Regions from separate parts of the Homo sapiens genome. Here region 1 is linked to region 2. The links are contacts of gene promoters, found by promoter capture Hi-C in blood cells and fetal thymus (Javierre and others, 2016). All regions are on one chromosome and are shown on one strand. Each heading gives the region's core, a stretch centred on a gene start or on the middle of the fragment in contact. The rest is flanking DNA. Distances are from core to core; before and after follow the strand shown. Region 1 has its middle 32 kb from the start of MARCO. Region 2 holds the start of STEAP3 (STEAP3 metalloreductase).

Region 1 (3,606 bases), core at 192-2,691, 310 kb after region 2:
ACTTACTAAGGTCACACAGCAATTTGGTGGCATCACTGGCTTCAAGCTACAAATCCCATCATGATGTGACGTGCCATTGAATATGGTGACAGAGCTTAGAAGAAGGAGGGTGCCTTTTAAATCTACTTCCATTCAGAAGGGCACGTATTCTTCTATTCCCTGAGAGTGGCTTTGGTTTCCATGCCCAGGAACATTGTGGCACCTTCATCATGTGCCCTGTACACATGGGCATCCTGTGCCACTTCCACTGGGTCCCACCTCCCACATGTTCTGTTTGGTGCCCTGAGCAAAGGCGAGGCCGCCAGAGGCGCCAGGAACTAGGGACGGTCCTAGATGCTCTGCCTCAAGTACAATGTTAATAATTTTTGTGATGCTGACCGGGAGTTCCTTTTAGAATGATAATCTGATATTCTCGTTTTGTCAATTTTTTAATGTTGTTCAATTTTCTGTGTATCTGTATGAAACCTCAAATATTATGTGGAACAAGTTGAAAGAGAAAGAGACTGAAAGAGAAATAGTTAATGGTGAAGGCTGGTGGTTAGGGAAGGGTCAGAGACTCTCATGTGTCTAGCCTGTTTAGGAAAGCCCCTTCCTTACATCTCTGACCAGCATCCTTGACTAGCACCCGTGATACATAATAATCCTGGTCACTAATCCATATCCAGACATCAGCCCTGTGGTGCTCTGATCATACATGCATGAGTCAATGAATAGCACCATCCTCAGCATTTGTTGTTGTTAGAAAAACTAACAACATTGTTCCTACTCAAGGAAGTTGTAATCTTGCTAGAGACAAGAATCTAGATTCTGAAACAATCAAGGTTATAAACAAGGGACAATCAGAGGATGATACACAGGAGCAAATAAAAACGATTTTCCTTTTGAGAAGAACATTCTTTCTTCTATAACACGAGAAAGTGGACTTTGGCAATGATCTATGCAGAAACCTCAGGCCACAGATCACTGGGAAATTAAGAGCCCTGCTTTGGCTTCCTGAGGACTCAAAGTGGCTGTCTACACGGTGTAATAACTCAGATGAACCAGGCCTCCTCTCCATGAACTGTGTAGACATGGCCCCAGGCTTGGAGGCCTCTGGTTGCAGATTGGCTGCACAGAGTATCGAGGTGTCTGGCTGAACTTTTCCTTATTCCAGCAGATGTTCCAGAGTCAGAGACTGGATGATGGTGTCTTGGAGTTCTCAAAAGATCCTCAGCCTTTATAGGAGCTAGATTCTTTCCAGATCAGGGCTCAAATATCTGGTTCTTCTCTTCTTCCTAGATCCATGGAAGATTTACTTCTCAGCCCCCTTGATTTAGTTGGAACCATGTGACTAGTTTTAGCCAATGCCCCAAGAGTACAAGTTACATGTAGTTAAAAGCAGGTGTGGGTGCTCTATGCTCTCTCTTGCTCTGCTACAGTGACTCAGGAAGCTACACACAAAGATAGTAGATATATAGGGTAGAAAAAGTATGAATTTCTTAGTCATCACATGGGACAGCTGCCCACTAGAATTCTACAAGGAAGAAATAAACTTTGGTTGTGTTCAGCAGTTGAGATTTCAGTATCAATTTGTTACTGCAGCATGACCTAGCCTGTCCTGACTCTTTGCAACATCCCAGACTACTGATTGGGAGAAGAGGCTGGGAGAAGGGTAGAGCTTGGATGGAAATCCTTTTGTCTGTCTTTGGTACGCTGTCTTTGCATTTGATGCTCTTATGCACCCTCTTCCTCCCCTTCCCTCTCTTCTTCAGTTATCTGAAGACCTACCATGGCACTTTTCCTCTGCTCTGCCACTACAGACAGAAGGACTTGCCTGATGGCCTTGTTTCATAATCCATTGTAATTCAGAAAATATTAGGGCCAAAGCGGGGACCAGAGCCTATGCAGTTCAACATTCTCAATGAGCAGAGAAAGAACCTATGGCTTAGGAGGTAATATGAGTTGCCCAAAGCCACACAACACCTGGGCGACAGGACTCATACCCAGGTTTCCCGGCTCCAAGGCCCATATTTTCTCCTCTGTCTCTATCCATTGACCTGAATCCTAGTCTCATCTGGAGGGTTGATTGTCATGTTATTCTACATTTCTTGTGTCAAGAAAAAAGTTTTGAAATCTTGTAACTAGACAGGAAGTACAGTAGGTCCTTCAATGTTTTACCAGGGCATTGTTTAACAAACCGTTTTTAATTCTCAGAGAGAATGTACTTGTGCTTGACTATGGTATATGCTATTTGGTTAGCACCTAGGCACTGGGAAATGACATGTTTAGCTGCAGATTTCTGTCTGGCAAAAAAAAAAAAAAAAAAAGATAACCTCAAATATTATGCTGTTATTGCCCTGTAGGACATTAACCAGTTTTGATCTAGCCTAACAATCTTCCTTCTTTCTTTCTTTCCTTCCTTCCTTCCCTCCTCCTCTCTCTCTCTTTCATACTTTTTCCTGATGGACTATATCATTCTAAGTCATGAAGTGCTCTTGGAACCAATTTTACCATATTACTGGTCTCTCATTATTTAATTCAAAAGTTGAGTAAAATCTTTGGCACACATTCACCCTATATTGGTAAGAAAATTTATGTTTCTAACTTTTTGAAAATTATATGCTGACACTTGAGAGAAGTGTCCATGTTTTTTCAGCTTTGTACCACCATCACCTAGCATACTGTGTGACCTGGAACTGGAGGTCATAATGTTTACTGAATGAACAACGGAACCTGGGCCTATTCATCTAGGTTATAGATCTGCATATCAGCATTTTTAAAGTCTAGACTCAGCAGTGAAGCTCTGATATGGGAGTCTTGGGGTCCAGGAGAGTCTATTGGAGGAAAGGTTTGGGCTCTCACCAGCCATGACTGATCTTTCTCATAGGCATTAACTCCATCTTCACTCAGGAACATGGCACTTCTGTCCTGATGGCCTTCGAGACAGCTTTTGCTCAGTGGGAGAAGTTGGAATGGGTGTATTCCTCTAGGGCCCCTCTTGGACAGACCCAACTGCGACCTCTATATTCCTTTAGCAGTTAGGAGGGAGGTGGAGCTGCATTCCACTCACTCCTCCCTTCCCCCTGTGCTCCATCAGCTTAGCCACCACCTCTGATATTCAAGGGAGCCACATCAGGCAGCCCGAAGCCAGAATAGCTTGCTCTGCGCCCTCCTACTTGTTCTAATTATAGCCTTTAAACACAAGATCCCAGGCCTTTAAGACGAGGTTTATAATGGCGTCATTCCCTAGAAACTTTTATGGGGACTCTTTGGGTGGTTTTCCCTTCCACCTGGAAGCACTGCCAGGTCCTCAAAATCTTAAGGCTAGCTAGCTTTCCACATCCAATAAGCAGACCCTTCTGCCCAGAGGAAGGTCTTCCGAATGTCACCAAGAAGGCTTTCTTCAAAAGGAGCAGTGTCCTTTGCTTGTCCAGGAACTTCACTTGGGCTGAAGGAAATAGTTCATTCTGCCTTTCACGATTTCTCCCTTTCCAGCAGCCAGTGTTTATCATTCAGCGTGGGCCTTGGGATGGGACTGAGTGGATCGGAACTAAAGTAGCTGATTTATATTCAGAGCGGAGTTTAAATTAACTGCACAGAAGTCAAATCTCGCATTGCTCGTGTTTA
Region 2 (3,782 bases), core at 548-3,047:
CAGCACCTTGGTCTCTGATAAGTCCAAGAAGGGAAGGGCTGTGGGCCAAGGATAGGAGATATGAATGGGAGAGGAATCTACCTGTTTGACATCTCTAGGCTGGAGAGGGAACATGTGTGATCCCAGCTTGACCTGGCCTGGTCCTGGGGACCTCAGCAAACCTGGGGCAGGCTGTTCAACCCCCAGGTGGACAAGTGGCCCAGCCTGAGCTCCCTGCTGGCTCTGAGGCCAGCATTAGACTGTGTCACTTCCATACCTGCTGCCGGATTGCCTGGCTGAGGCCACCTGCTCCATTTAAGCCCCCTTCAGGACACTAGTGACACCATCTACCCCACCCCGCCCACTTACCCATTAGACATTCACTAAGCACCTGCTCCTTGCCAGCCCCTCTGCAGGCCACCAGGGACAGAGATGAGTAAGACATAGTCTGGGTCCTCCAGGTGCCCCTAGCTGATTCAGTCAGCTTCGGATGGGACTTGGGGATCTATATTTTTAACAAGCCTTGCAGGTGACTGAGAGGACACACCCAGGTGAGACCCTTTGGTTTTGTGGACCTTCTGGCTCTCAGCACTGTATTCTTGGGGCTGCCAGAATCCCCGTGAGGACACAGCCTGTTTCGCCCCAGTGGTAGGTTCCTCTGGGCTCCAAGTCAGATAACTCTGGGTTCAAATTCTACTTCTGCAACTTCCTAGCTGTGTATCCTTGCAAAATACGTGGACTCTCTGAGGCTGTTTCCCCATTTTTAACAAGAGATAATGGTGCCTTCCTGTTGTGAGGATTAACTGGGATATTGTGCTCAAAGCCCTTAGCAAGATGCCTGGCACACATAAATGGGAATATCTGCTGTTAATTATATTATGGCTGCACTCTGATGGACAGAAATACCTCCCTGGGGGCATTTCCAGAATCCCCACTTCTGGAGCCCATCTCTGAGGTGGCCCTGGATATTTGGGAGGCCTCTCTGTGCCCTCTGCCAGGGCTCCAGCGGGACCTTCCTGCTTCTCCCCACGGATCCGGCTTTCTGGTCCCCAAACCGCATATTATCTGGGCACACCCTCCCCTTCATTTACCCAGAGTGACCAAAGTTCCAACCACACCTCTCCGGGCAGCCTGTCCCCAAATTTCGGGGAAGTGGGCAGGAGGGGGAGCTTTGCCGGGCAGGAGGGGGAACTTTGCCAGGCAAGGGCTCCGCGGGCAGAGGCGGGCACTGGTGAGGCCAGCCTCCTCCTGGGGACCAAGGTCGGGCGCCCCTGCCCAGCCCCTGCACCTGCCCCTGTCCCTGCCCTGTTCGGCTGCGAAGGGACTGGGAGGTCTGGCGAGGAAGAGCCTGGAAGATCCCCGCCCACAGCTACCAGCCCTCCTTTGGGACCGCTGGCCAGAGCCCCAGCCGTGGGGCACACGGGACCTGTGGACTCAGCCGGGGTCATCCGGAGGGGCGCCCACATCTGCACCCGGGGCTCCGGAGCCTGCTCCCCGCCACTGTCGCCGCCGGCCCTGCCTAACCTGCGCGGCGCAAGCGGCTTCCACGCCTAGGGAAGGAAGGCACACGGGGTGGGGGCCCCGGAACCCGGTTTCTCTGCCGCCGGGCGCACGTGGCTCGGTCCCAGGGGACAGAAGTCGCCTCCAGACGTGTGGCGGCACCCGAGGTCCGCGCAGCGACGGCGCAGGGTGCAACCGGGCGGGCGTCTCGGGGACCGGGCGCAGCACGCAGCCCCGCGGAGACCGGGGGAGGGTACACTCACCTCTGCGGCCCGCCGCTCGGAGCGACCGCGGCAGCTGAAGGTCCGCGGCGAAGGCGGTGGCTCGGCCCGAGGCTCCTCCTCCCCCGCGCCCCACCCGCCCGGGAGGGCCGGACCTGCAGGGGAGGTGGCCGCCCTCCAGCCCGCCGCAGCTTATCCGGCTCGGCCACCTCCCCCGGGGCCGCAATCAGGAGCCGCCGGGTCCTCGCTCCCCGCCCAGCCCTGCACAGCCCCGGCAGCGGTGGCAGCGTCCAACCACCCTCCTCCCCTGGCCCCAGGCGGGAGGTCGCCAGCCGGCGCCAACACTTCCTGATTTGCAGTGCCCGGCACACGGCTGAAGTGAGCAGAACTCCGGGACCTCCTCTTAACCCGGCCACGGAGGGCACCGAGGCCAGGGTGACCTCTAGGCCCCCCTCTCTTAACCTGAGGAGCACCTCGAATCCTTGTCCATTTTATAACCGAGGCCAAGTGGCAGCCACGGTTGCAGGTGGGAAGAGACCAGGGCTCCAGATTGGGTCCGGATCCCTTCCCTCTCAACAAGGTTGCGCCCAGGCCTTTGTGGTCCCCCCCCAATCTCTGTCCCTTGTCCACCCTTAGGGCAGACTTTTGACCCTTCCCAGCAGTCCTCAGGTTCCAAGACCGGTGGGATGGCGGGTACCTTTCTCCCGGAGCTGCCTCCCTGTCTAGGCCTTCTGGGCTCTGAAACCCTACCCGTCCCCCCTTCCCCCTGGGGCACTGCCCGCTGCCCTCCGCACTTCCAATGCCGATGGCTTCACAGCACTGCAGCGAAGCAGGGCGTAAGTAAGGGGAGGCTGTCTGTGGGCACCTCTCTAGAGGTGTGCGCCCTGGTCCGAAGCCCCTTCTCACCTGTGGTCACATTTGCCGGCTGCAGTTATTTTCTTTACAGGTGAGGAGACCCGGGCTTTTCCGCTCAGATTCGTGGAGGCTGAGTGGGGGTTCCTGACCCCTGGTACTCTTTCTAGAGTATTCCTGGGAGACATACACTATTAGCCTCTGATAAGGAGCTTCAGGTTATTTTTAGGAAGTCTAAGAATCCTGTTTTCTGGGGAGCCAGCCTCTGTTGGGGAGATAAGCCTCCGGAGGCCAGAGGCAGGAGCTGGGCCTCAAGGAAGGCCCCACAACTGGACCCCAAAGGGCACGGTGGGGAGGAAGAGGCAGAGCTCTGGTCTCCCTGTGGAGGGAGTGCTGCTGTAAAGCGCCTTTCCCTCCACCCCCAACTCCCGCCGAGAACCCCCCCACCCCCGCAGGCAGTTTGCTTTCCCCCTCCACAGCTTTCCTCCTACCCGAATACCCACCTCCCAGCTCTCTGCTCAGCCAGGGCCCAAGGCCAGAGCCTCTCTTCTCTTGCAAGAACTTTCCTGTCCCACCTTGCCCCAGGGCAACACCTCTTATGGCAATTCTTACAGGTCCTTTATCCATTCAACACTCACAGTGCCCCAGGTGCCAGACAGTGCTCCCAGTGCTGGAGACACACGTGCCCAATGGAGGTTCCTGCCCTTAGGGTGCCAGGGCTGGTGAGTGGCCCCTGCAGTGGGTTGTAAACTTTGAGAAGACAAGACCCAGTTCCTAGCCCCCTCTGGTGCCCCTAATATGCTCCCCCTGCAGTAGCTGTTCTTTTGATGCCTGCTCCTGCTGATGGGGATGGCTGAATAGCCTTCCTTTAATGCCCAAGGACAGCACAAGGAAACCGAGCTTGGGAAATGCAAACACTGAGAGGTCTTCCAGCATCTTTGGAAGAATCCCTGGGAACCAGTGTCTTTTTGTGGGGCTCTCCATGCATGAGTAAGAGAGAGGAAGACTTTTTTTTGAGGCGGGGAAGCGGGGCTCTCCATGAGTAAGAGAGACAGGGGGAGACATTTTGAAGGCTGGGCTGCCAGAGGTCTATAGAGGATTATCTTAAAAGGAACATGAACTCCTGCTGGAAAAAGTAGAGGGGTCTGAAATTTCTCACAGACAGGGAGGGAGGTGAATACCCTACTTGGGCCCACACACTTTGGCAGAGAGGCCACCGCCCACGCCGTT

What was found. Contacts are between HindIII fragments. The CHiCAGO score rates a contact against its expected background, and 5 or more counts as called.
Region 1: a contact is called between a fragment that was not itself captured here and the fragment with the promoter of STEAP3 in region 2, in 1 of 17 cell types (M1 macrophages). The highest score is 5.0, in M1 macrophages.

What each region holds. Positions count from the first base shown.
Region 1 is chr2:118,908,760-118,912,365 of GRCh38, reverse strand. No RefSeq gene overlaps it. Among named protein-coding and RNA genes, the nearest start is that of MARCO, 32 kb to the left of the region's middle. The HindIII fragment of the contact is 4,597 bases long and covers 1-3,606 here.
Region 2 is chr2:119,221,849-119,225,630 of GRCh38, reverse strand. It overlaps STEAP3 (STEAP3 metalloreductase), which reads right to left and starts at 1,797. Exons shown (of 6, transcript NM_182915.3): 1 at 1,743-1,797. RefSeq lists silencers at 1,145-1,214, 1,275-2,054. The HindIII fragment of the contact is 5,957 bases long and covers 1-3,782 here.